Regions from separate parts of the Homo sapiens genome. Here all the other regions are linked to region 1. Evidence: promoter capture Hi-C in 16 types of primary human blood cells and fetal thymus (Javierre and others, 2016). All regions are on one chromosome and are shown on one strand. Each heading gives the region's core, a stretch centred on a gene start or on the middle of the fragment in contact. The rest is flanking DNA. Distances are from core to core; before and after follow the strand shown.

Region 1 (2,862 bases), core at 169-2,668:
AATTTTCTTTCCCAAGATATAAGAACCCTCTGTTGGGTTATAGCTCGGGACCCCCTTTCTGGTAACACCTATGCATGTGTCTCAGGCAGGGAGAAGATAAAGATAAAGCTAATGTGGCAAAAAGTGTTAATAATTTTAGAATCTGGATGGTTTTAGAAGTGTTAAACTATTCCTGCAACTTCTATGCAAATGCGGAACTTTTCAAAATGAAAAGTTGGGTGAAGAGAGAGGTAAACAAGCAGTAGAATGGAGGAAAGTCACTTGCTGTGGGAAAAAAGAAAAAACAGACAAAAACTGGGTATTCAAAACGTACTTCAACAAGCCCAAGTTCCTATAGCCAAATTTTTTAACTTGGCAAAAAATAAAGGACCTTTTCAGGCTGATGGTAATTTTAATAAAGGTTTAGGTTGCATTTGTCAAAATTCATCAATGGTACAGGGAATATCTGTGCATTTCACTGAAAGTCAATTTTGGCTCAAAAAATTTAAAAAAGCACTACTGAACTCTAATTCATGGTAAGCATAGTGAGGTGTTTGAGGGAGAAGTGTTGTGATATCTGCAACTTACTTTGAAATGTTTCCAAAAATAGGTGGATTAATGAATGGCTGAAAGGATGGACAGAAGGAAAGATAAGGGATACAGTAAGTTCAGCAGACGTTAACCGGGTCGTTCACTGCACAAGTCTTTCAGCTTCTCTATCTAAACCAACATTTTATGTCATAAAATATTGAGACTGGAAGACTGCACAAAGGAAATATGCCACTAAACCAAGGGAAAAGACAGCAAAATGGTCACTAAACACGTGCAAAAATGCGGCCCTCACTGAGAATTGCAGTAAAACATGATTTTGCAAATATCAAATGGAAAAACACACAGGTGATCTAACACCTTCGAGACTCAAGGGGAAGCGGCTCAGCCCACTGGCTCACGGCCGCCAATTCAGCCGGAGGCCGACCCAAGCCTACACTGCCCCTCACACCTGACAGAAAAGCTGCAGACTCGGGGGTTACCCCCGGAGACGGACCAGGACACCCAGCAGGCGTGGCAAAACAGTCTCTATGGGAGGGCGGGCTAGAGATGCGAGCGCGGAACTCACGGGTGACGCTAAGGAAAGAGCGGGGGCGTCCAGACCAGCCCCGGAGCGACCTCGTCCTCAGAGGAGTGACCCCAATCGCCACGGAGCGTCCCCACCCACCAGGAGAACTACGCCCCTGGCCAGACCCTCGCCCTAGCGGGCCCGACATGCCCACCACCCAGGTGAAACCCACCCGCGGACGCGCCCCTCGCCGCCCCACAAGGACCCGGCGGACCTCCACCCGCCAAGACTTCCCTCCGCAGGAAACGGAGGCAGCGCAGGGCTCAGGGATGCGTCGGCACTTACGGTTGGCGGCCGGCGGCAGCCATGTTCCGGGCGATTGCGCTTGCGCGGCTGCCGGGACAAGGATGTGCGCGTGCGCGGAGTCCCCGAGCTTCCCCCGCCCAACGCTGGGGCGGCCGCGGGTACCGGGTTATTCATTACCCTGGCGTGGACTTGCCTCGGGGCGGACGCGCAGGCATTTACTTTCTCCTATGGTCTCCTCTGATTTTTAACCCGATGCTATCATTCTTTTGTTATAGAGCCTTCCTTTTATTTACTGCATAATTTCCTAAAATATTTCTTTATCTATAATCTTTTTTTGAGATAATAATGTTAAAATTCAGAATAAGTACACTCATTATTCATTGGCAATATAATTATTTACTGGGTGCGTGGCTCACGCCTGTAATCCCAGCATTTTGGGAGGCCTAATTTGTTAAAATGACTAGATCTAAGAAATGTAAACAAAGCCAGTAACTTTCCTCTGTAGTAACAATAGCCGGTTGAAAATGAAAACTACACATTTTCATTCTTTCAGTGGTTCTCTTAAACTTTAGCATGGGGAAGCCTAAATATTTACTGACAGGGAAGAGAGAAACTGTGGTATGTGCAACGGAGCAATAGGGGGTGGTTAAAACAAACGGACTGGGCTCACCTAAGGTCAGGAGTTTGAGACCAGCCTGGCCAACATGGTGAAACCCCGTCTCCACTAAAAATACAAAAATTAGCTAGGCGTGGTGGCAGGCGCCTGTAATCCCAGCTCCTCGGGAGGCTGAGGCAAGAGAATCACTTGAACCTGGGAGGCGGAGGTTGCAGTGAGCTGAGATCGTACCATCACACTCCAGCCTGGGGGACAAGAGGGAGACTTCGTCTCAAAAAAAAAAAAAAAAAAAAGGACTAACTTATATACAAGATAGACAGTTCTCCAAAAACAGTTCGAAAAGTAAACTGTGCACTTATCCACATGATACAACTTACCTGGAAATAAAAGACACAAAATCTATATGTTATACAGAGATTGATACATAAGTAGTAAAGTAACAATAACATGGACCAGATAGATTGTCCAACCTCAAGAAAGTGGCAACTGAGGGGAAAGAGTTGGGGAGGAGACAAAGGAGACCTCAGTTACACCTGTGATGCTTGATAGGAAAAAACAAATCAAAACCTGAAAATCTGACTACATGTTAACACAGGTAAAATCTCGATGATACATGGGTGTCATCTTTATTATTTATAGATTATTCTATTACTCTCCGAACCTCTCCGCAGGTTGAAATACTTCACAATTTTGAAATGAAAATTAGAAAAAAAATTCTAAGCCATAATAGTGATTAAATTGTCACTCACAATAGTGATGGTTGGAGCAACTTGGAAATCAATTAGCAAAAGCAATAAAGGATCTTCATGAAGAAAATACAAAAACCTCATTAACAGACCTGAAGTTAAGTTCAGAACACACTGACATATTATTCCTGAATGGAAAGTATTTTTTTAATTTCTCC
Region 2 (2,862 bases), core at 128-2,627, 590 kb before region 1:
ACTTAAGCCTGGCTGTTCTGGGTCTTGGGAGAGGGAAGCAACAGGCACTCACATTCCAGGGTTGGAAAAAGATCCTAAACAGGCAACTAAATAAATGAGTAAGGCAATGTCAGATGGCCTTAAAGATTCAGATGACAAGAAAACAGAGCAAGGAGACCAAAGAGACTCTGGTCAGCTTTAAACGGTGCAACAGACGAGACCTCTTTAAGCAGCGGACACCAGAGGGAGTCAGAAATAAAGCAAAGGAGGGAGAGGTGGATGAGAAATTAACAACTACGACAGGAGCTGACAGTAATCTGGGCTATCATGAAAGTAATCAGAGTGACTGCTAGAGAGTAACCCTGGGCCTCATGTGTTATCTCCAAAGGGACACTACATCCTGCATACCATCGCCACTGAACATTTTAATGGACTCGTTTTTCACCTGTAACTAAATGTCTTAAACAGGAAAATATACTGTTAGTTGCAACCCAGCGTCCCTTGCCCTAAACTGAAAGACAAATTCCTCAGCCTGCCCTACCACCTTTTCTGCCCTGGCATAGCAGCAACCGCAGAAACGCTCCTCCCACCTCTTTCAGCCGCTGCCCTTCGTGTTGTAGAGACAGGAGGCCAAGGAGGCCAGAGGGTCAGACTCCTGCTGGGGTTGAGTCTCCAAACCTAGCACAGGCCCAGGGAGCAGCTCCGGAAACAACATCCTGAGCGACGTCCCCGGACCGTGCTGTGCACTGAGACGGACACACACACATCACCCAGGGAGCCGTTCAAGCTTCCTCAACCCCGGGGGGGGGAAGAGTAAATATTTCTACTTTGCGCGCGCAAAAATGAAGGACGAGGACAGTAACGGGACTTGTTCAAGGTCGCAGGCCCGAGAAAGGACATGGTTGGAAGAGCCACGAGGAGGACTGCGGTCGCTCCTCTCACCTGTGAGGGGTTCCGGGACCCTAAAAGCCCTATTTCATACCACAACGCCGCGCACCCCAGAAACGGGGACGCTCCCCACGCCACCGCGGGCCTGCATTCCGGACCCGGGACCGCGCGACCCCCTTCTAGGCCTCTAAGAAGCAACGGCAGGGACTGCACTGAGGACGACCCTGAAACGCCGTCCTTCCGCTCGTCGGGCCCGGGACACTGAGGCCGGGTGGCCGCGGGGAGCCGAGCCAGTCTGCTCACCTGCGCTGCGTCCTTCGTCTCCGCCATCCGACCGTTGGCAGGACGAGGCCGCGTGGGGCAGCTCCCACGGGCTCAAAACCCTACCCCGGGTCCTACAACGGTGCGGAGGTGAGCCCCAGTCGCCCTACCATCCTTCCCAGCACAGTTCTGAGAGCGCGGACCAACACGCCCCACCACAAACGTCCACGCCAGCGAGGCCGGAAGTCCCGCCCCTGTGTCGCGGTCGCCTGCCACGCCTTTTCCTGCGCCGGCCCACTGCCTTCTAGGTAATGTAGTCTTGTCCCGTAAGAGGCCAGGCTTGGCTCTTTTTCCTTTTTTATTATGCACACCATGTTTCTGTATATCTCAGATGATCTTAGCGGAGCAAGTGTACACACTGGATTGTAAATTTTTAAAACTTCCTATTATTCGGATGCCTCAACGTCCCTACAAGCAGGCTGTGAGCACTCGCCCAGGCACCCAGGTAAACGAGTTTGATAAAGGGGGCCCTGCCACGAGGTTCCCCGCTTGCCTCCTCTGAGTGACCCAGTGACATTCCCATGTACCAGTAAAATCTTACGCCTGGTTACTGCGTCCTCCTCCACCCTGACGCCAGGCACTGTCCCTGGGACTGGCGTGGATCTGGACCCCCGCTTCCCGCGTGGAGCCATTCCCGGGACATGCTCGTGGGGTTCCGTCTGTGGGACGTCTGCCTCCTCTGTGTGGACTGGTGTTGCCCAGGGCTCAGGAAGGTCTCCAGGGGCCGTGAGTCCCCGCCCGCTTCCGGAGTCCAGCTTCGTGACACCATCGTGAGAAAGAATGCAGGGATGAGTCAAAATGAAGCCAAAGGCAAGAAGCTTTTATTGGGAAGAAAAAGTACACATTTTTGAGAAGAGTGTACTTTTCCCAAGAGAAGAGGGAAATGCGGACGTACGAGGGAGAGCGGGTCATGCACAATGGAGTTTGGGTTTCTAATTTTATGGGCTCTTCTAATTAGGGGGTGGGATAATCATGAGGTTTTTCTAGGAAAAGGTGGGAATTTCTTAGAATTGGGGTGCCAACCATTTTTATACTAAATGTGGGCGTGCTTGGATTGGCCTGGCACTGGTGGGTGTGTGATTTAATGTGGCAATGAGTGTATAATTAGGTCTGGGGTAGGAAATGGGTCAAATCTAGCGTCATGGGACAGCCTAGCCCCAATCCTGTTTGTTAAGGTCTCATCAGCCCAGTCTTCTTGTTGGAGTAGCTAATTTTAACAGCTTGATGTTTTCCCCCTTCTCCTGTGACCACACAGCATTCCTATTTTGTGGGTGTTTCTTTAATTAGAGAGTGGAATAATTATTAGGTATTCTGGAAAAGGAGGGAAATTCAGGGACCCACCTGGTTACTGCCCCCTTTCTCTCTTATTTGGCTTTGCCCAGAAGAGTCATGGACATGTCATCCTGACTGGGATTTTGGCCATTCTTTCTCTTATTTTGGGTTTTCTGTTATCCTATGGTTTCTTTGCCTAGTTCTTGTTTTTATTTGTTGTTCGAATTTTTCCATCCTCCTGCAACCACCCAGTGCTATTCCTATATCACTGTGAGTATAAACACCCTTTAACCTTATAGGCTTCTTGAAGTATAATTCCCAAGACCATGTTGCAGTGGTCCTTAAAGAACCAATAAGGCAGAGAGAAACAAACATGTTCCAAATTTTGTTCTCAGGAGTAAA
Region 3 (2,862 bases), core at 222-2,721, 550 kb before region 1:
TATTAATAGTTGTGACGTATAATGTTTTGTGTCGACTTGCCTGCATTAAGGGCTACCCAAATAGTTGGGAAAACCTTAGTACAGGATATGTCTGTGAGAATGTTTATGGAAGATATTAGCAGTTGAGTCTGTAGACAATGTAAAGGAGATCTGGCCTCATCAGTGTTAGGGGCCAACATCCAATGCTTTGAGAGCCAAGATAGAACAAAAAGGCAGAGAAAGAGCAAGTTACTCTCTTCTTGCCCTGGATCATCCACCTTCTGTTTTCCAACATTAAAGTTCTTGGATCTTGGGCCTTTGGACTCTGGAACATACAAGAATGACCCTCACCCAGTTCTCAGGCCTTCAGCCTCCAACTGGGAATTTCACCATAGGCTCCCTTGGTTTTCAGGCCTTCAGATGCAGACTGAATGATACCACCCACCTTCGTGTCTTACCAGGTTGCAAAAGGTATATCCTGGGACTTCTTAGCCTCCATAACTGGATGAGCCAAGTCCCATAATAAATCCCCTCTTGTACATCTATGTATCCTATTGGTTCTGTGTTTCTCTGGAGAATCCTGACTAATACAATAGGTTTCAGTAATTTTCATTTCACAACTGTTTTTCTAAGATGATCTCAACTCCCCATGCAAGCACTGTCCCTGCAGTAACAGTATCAATGATCAAAATTTCCCATCAAAGAGATGAAAGCTAGGTGTCCCAAACCTTTATTCTGGTATTCTGATGTCCCCTTTGCACAAGTGCTCTGACTGTGAACACTACAGACACTGTTCTACTTTAAAATGGCATATGCTAAGTGGCTCTTCTGTTTAGAAAGTTGCTACAATCCTAAAAGAAGCATATCTAAGAATATGGAGGAAGAAATATTATATGAATACAACACTGTTCCTTACAGGGCTAGACACACTCACCGATTACACAGGCAGGAGAGGCATTTTCTGTGAGACAAAATTCCTCTTTCGTCCTCCAGCTTCGGTGCGATCTAACGGATGTTTTATCATTCCTGTCATGGCGCTATGTAAACTCTATTTCCCTTATTCCTTACTGAGCATAATGAAACTCACAAAGCTGACTCTAACGTTCTACTTTACATAAATGTGTGGAGAAAGAAGGTAATGTTTACTAGGCTCTCGCCAAGGGTAGAGGCATTTTGTATCTGAATAACTCTGACTACCTAGGTGACTAGTTGTACACAATACCCTCCAAAAATCTCTGTATGGTACCTTAAAAAAGCAGCGAAGCTCCTCCCTTGTCCAAGGAGGCTGGAGACACCACCTCTCAGCCTTCCCCTCCACCTTTCTCCATAGCAACGGGGTCATTCCTCCCTGAGGTCCAGGAGAAGGGCGACCTCTGCCAGCCCAAGAAGCGGTGAGAACTACATTACCCAGAGGCCCGTGAGCCAGGTTCTTGGCGTGGAGCCAATGAGGCTCAGGGGAGGGACATTTCCGCTCTGTCCAACTTGTCGGAGCGGAACTTCCGGCGTCCTCCCTGTGGCGGGCACTTTGGCTTGTGTCAGTTCCATCCGCGGGTGCCGGATCTGGACCTAGGTGCTGACAGCGAGAAGGCGCGAGGAGAGTCGTTTTCTCAGCTGCACAGCCGGGGCCTGACGGTCGCCGGCGGTGGTGACAGCTTTGCTCTTGTCTCCGCCCGGATCGTCCACCGCTCCCGGCCCGCTCCGCCCAGAGTCCGATGGCGGCGGCACTGAGGGCCCCGACCCAGGTGAGCGCTGCGTCCTCCCGGCCTCCTCTGCCCTCCCCACCCGAAACTGAGGGACGCGTGAAGGGTTTTCTGCAGCCCGGACCGCACTGTCCGGCACAGTGAGGCGCTGGTGCTGGATCTCGTTTCTGGTAGTGTGGCAGGGAGCGGGAGAGCGACACGGTCAGGGGGCTGCGCGGGCAACAGCTTGGAGCTGCGCCTGAGCCGGGAGGCTGGGGAGACCCAGGCCGGCCTCACGCGTGCAGGTAGCAGAGGGTGGGGCAGCGCCGCGCTGCATTGGCCCCACTGAGTTTCACCAGCACACTGAGGGCCACAGCGCGTAGGACAGAAGAGGGGCACGGCCCCAGTCACGCTTCTAAAAGTTTCACAAAAGCTGTTCAGAGGAACGCGCTGGAAGGGCAGTGATGATAGCAGGCATGGAGGGACCTAGTCTTTTTACGAGGTCACAAAGCTGGTAAAAGTCAGCACCAAGGACTGACACCCAGATACAAAGCAGTCATCCCTGGACACCTGGCTCTGGTGTTCCACATTGGAACCAGAAGTCCATGGAGCCACACTTTGGTCACCTGCCTCTCAGAACATGTTTCCTCCCACAGATTGCCACTAGTACTTACAGGTCCGTAAGAAGCACTTGAAGACCCTACAAGGGTAAGTGGAGGAAATCCAGAAGCTCATTGATTCCAGCAATGGGATCTCTAGGATTGGGACTGTGGTGACCTGGGATTCTTTACTTACCGCTTTTCCAGGCCTTGAGCCTAGGGACTCTGAACAAAAATATGTCCAGGGTGAGTATTATATGAGGTGGTGCCTGTTGCTGGCAAATAATAGGATGAATGTGGAAGTTTGTCCCAGAGATAAGTACAGGTGTTTGGAGCTGCTTGGAGGTGAGGCTGAGCTGGTTAAGAGAACCTCAAGTCTCATTTCCTTCTCATGGGAACAGAGAGCAGAGGTACAGGAGTTAGAAACTAAATGGCTGTCTCAGATGTCTTTGTTCTGGAGATGATGGCAGCAATGAAGATTTGGAGCAGAAGAGGGAGGTGATCTTCCCCAGGCCTCATGAGGCTCCTGTGGCTGAGCACAGACAACAGACTGTGGGTTTAAGGGAGTTGGTAGCAATACCAAAGAGGAAAGAGGAGACTACTGC
Region 4 (2,862 bases), core at 212-2,711, 530 kb before region 1:
GTGTTCAGGGAACCTCAGGCCTCCATTATGTCTGGTGGGATCAGACAGCAGGGACAGGATTCAGCCCAGAAATGGCAGCCTGAGGATCTGGGTTTGTATGCTGAGAGAATTGGGAGCCACTGCAGGTTTGGAGCTAGGAGGGAGTGATCTGACTTTGGTCTTAACCAACTTCCTCTGTACAGTGAAAAAAGACTGTGGGAGTGAGGATGAAGGAAGGAATACCACTGAGGAGCTTAATGCAACAGTTCAGGTTGGACCAGAGTGGTCGCTGTAGAGGTGGGAGATGTGGATGGATTCTGAATCATTTTTCTTAAAGTGGGACCAACCAGATTTTCTGATGTGGAAGATGAGAAAGAAAAGGCAAGGGGTGAAGGAAGACCCTGGATTTTTTAGTCTGAGAAGATATAAAGATGCCATCAACTGAAGTGACAAAGTTGGTGGTAGGAGTACCTTTCAGAGGTAATATCAGGAGTGCAGTTTGGCTATGTGGAATCTACCATGTTCCAAAGACACTTGAGTGGAGGTGTCAAGTAGACAGCTGGACACAGAGATCTGAAGTTCAGAGAAGGGATTCAGGTTGGAGCTATCCACAGGGTGGCAGCCAGCATGTGGATCAGGATGGAGCTTTGCTTCCAATTTAGAGAGAGAATCTTTAGGTCATGGTGACAGTGCCATCAGCACACTGTAAGGGCAGACACAGCAGGGTAGAGGTAGGGGCCATCTTAGAGTCTAGAAGAGGGAGGGAAATGTCCCTGGGAGGAAGGGGAATAATAGGGTCAGGCAGGTGGCAAAGCGTTCCAGGCAGAGAGTGGATGTGAGGTGAAGTACTGTAGTAATAGAAGTGAGGTGGCAGTGAGGCCAGAGCCAGTGCTTATTCAGCTCTTTATGTGCTCCTCAGGCTTCCATGGTGACCTTTGGTGGGACCTGTGGAGTTTCAGTCAAGCTAGTGAATTAGCCCAGGGACAGATTGGGTCAGTAGGCAGAATCCCTGTGCTTGGGGTAGGTGCCCAGTGAGTGTAGGTTTTGAATGAGTTAAATGTTGAGAAGCCTGTGACTGACCTCAGTAGTACAACAACAAAGCAGAAAAGGGCTGAGTTTATCTGGGATCTGCACATGGTTCTGGATTGCTGAATTGACCCATGAAATAGAGCCAGGAGGGGAAGATTTAATAGGTGGATTCAGGGCAACCCATGGCAGTGTGGCCGTTGATCAGGACCAGATGTAATCCTGGATGCATTATCCAAGCATTCTCTGGATGCTGTGTGCAGATTTGCATGTGGGGAAGCCATGGAGGTACCAGTGTTGTGGGTGTCCATAGATGTAAAGGAGGTATAGCCAAAAGGGTGATGTGCACATGGAGATGGAGTGTGAATTCATGAGCCCAGAGCTTTGGTATGGAGGGTTTCTGAAAGAATGCTTAGCTCAGGTTTGTGTATGAGGAATAATCTGTTGATCCCCAGGGAGCTGGCTGATAGGAGAAGGGTTGGGTCCTACATACCAGGCCCATGGTGTTTTATCTGTCCACTTGCCTGTTCTGAGCTGGACAAAATGATTAATGGAATATGAGTCGAGAACAGGCACCAATCACACCAGGGCCTGTTATCTCATTTGAGTTAGATGTGACAAGGAGTCCTGGAGAGAGAGGCTGTCCTTAAGCTCAGTTGTCCACCTCACACAGGGCTATGTGACCTTCAAGGATTTATTTGTTTACTTCTCTTAGGAGGAATGGGAGCTGCTGGATGAGGCTCAGAGACTCTTCTATTATGAAATAATGGCTTCTGTGCTTCGCATTTATAGTCTCCCTGGGTAAGGCCCCAGTATCCCATTTTTCTGGGCTGGGTCCTACTCTTCCTTTTTGCCCTAGGGGTTGCTCTTTCCTTTCCATAGCTAGAGCATGGGTACTGCTCTCTTCTCTGATTCCCTCACATAGGTCCCCTGGGTGCCTAGGCTCAGCTAGATGCATTGGCCCCTCTCTTCCCTGTGTTCCTCAACTCCTGCTGCCCTGAAGCCTTGCCAGGAAGGGTTTGGAGGTCAGGGGTCCTAAGGTGACCCAGTGAATTCTGCTTGGCCTCTCCCTGGCCAGGTGACTGTCCACACTCATGACACCTCTGGACTCCAGGCTCCACCCGCTTCCTCTAATTGTAATTTCCTTGAGTCTGCCTGTGTCCTCAATTTCAGTCATCATGGTCACCACTTGTGGGCCCACTGCACTGTTCCTGCAGGACAATTTTCTGAGGTTCATTTTGTAGCATTTGTTTTCTTGCAATTTTGCATGGGTGGGCTACTCTGGCTAGTGCTCTCAGCCTGTTTCACCTTTCCCCTATGCTTTGTATCTTCCAGATCCTCTGTGGTTGTTGAATTGTAACAAGAGAGAGAACTCTGGCTGCCTGAGAGGGCATGACTCTAGTCACAGCAGGAGGGGCTTGGACAGGCCCTGGTGAGTGGGAGCTGAGGGACGCCATAACCTCAGGGCTGGGTTCCTGTAGTTCCGGAAACCTATGTTGTGCCCATCACAAGTGCCAAGGCCAGAGGCCCTAACTTATTTCTACCTTTTTATCCCCATTCTGTACACTCTTGTCATTTCTAATCTGACTTCTGACCCAGGGCTGTCTTCTCCCATTCTCTACCAGAGGGGCTCTAGTAGAGCAATAGCTCTCTCTGCGATGCTTTCCAATATTGTACTACACTTACACTATTGTGTCATAAGATGTGTGCATATCTGTAAATAGTCCCTGAACACGTTACTTATTTTTAATCACATTTTCCTGGGCCTGTACTCACATTTCGCATAGGAGTCACCTGTCACCCACAGTCAGCCAAGGTCCTGCTAAAAGTCATTGCAGAGGATTAAGTTGGAGACCT

What was found. Contacts are between HindIII fragments. The CHiCAGO score rates a contact against its expected background, and 5 or more counts as called.
Region 2: the fragment with the promoter of ZNF550 here is called in contact with the fragment with the promoter of ZNF329 in region 1 in 13 of 17 cell types (total CD8 T cells, naive CD4 T cells, non-activated CD4 T cells and 10 more); the score reaches 13.7 in total CD8 T cells.
Region 3: a contact is called between the fragment with the promoter of ZNF530 here and the fragment with the promoter of ZNF329 in region 1, in 17 of 17 cell types (activated CD4 T cells, non-activated CD4 T cells, total CD8 T cells and 14 more). The highest score is 14.7, in activated CD4 T cells.
Region 4: a fragment that was not itself captured here is called in contact with the fragment with the promoter of ZNF329 in region 1 in 2 of 17 cell types (naive CD4 T cells and non-activated CD4 T cells); the score reaches 5.2 in naive CD4 T cells.

The regions. Positions count from the first base shown.
Region 1 is chr19:58,149,371-58,152,232 of GRCh38, forward strand. ZNF329 (zinc finger protein 329) reads right to left here and starts at 1,419. Exons shown (of 4, transcript NM_024620.4): 1 at 1,382-1,419. RefSeq lists an enhancer at 1,496-1,555. The HindIII fragment of the contact is 7,703 bases long and covers 1-2,862 here.
Region 2 is chr19:57,558,486-57,561,347 of GRCh38, forward strand. ZNF550 (zinc finger protein 550) reads right to left here and starts at 1,378. Exons shown (of 4, transcript NM_001397372.1): 1 at 1,171-1,378. The coding sequence starts at 1,197. LOC124904781 (a long non-coding RNA gene) reads left to right here and starts at 1,457. Exons shown (of 2, transcript XR_007067357.1): 1 at 1,457-1,633. RefSeq lists enhancers at 420-499, 644-1,508, 950-999, 1,486-2,685, 1,630-1,739. The HindIII fragment of the contact is 1,240 bases long and covers 765-2,004 here.
Region 3 is chr19:57,598,414-57,601,275 of GRCh38, forward strand. It overlaps ZNF530 (zinc finger protein 530), which reads left to right and starts at 1,472. Exons shown (of 4, transcript NM_001321981.2): 1 at 1,472-1,721; 2 at 2,315-2,366. RefSeq lists enhancers at 1,520-1,729, 1,820-1,939. The HindIII fragment of the contact is 5,329 bases long and covers 1-2,862 here.
Region 4 is chr19:57,617,072-57,619,933 of GRCh38, forward strand. It overlaps ZNF134 (zinc finger protein 134), which reads left to right. Exons shown (of 3, transcript NM_003435.5): 2 at 2,341-2,437. The coding sequence starts at 2,398. Among named protein-coding and RNA genes, the nearest start is that of ZNF134, 4.3 kb to the left of the region's middle. The HindIII fragment of the contact is 4,269 bases long and covers 1-2,862 here.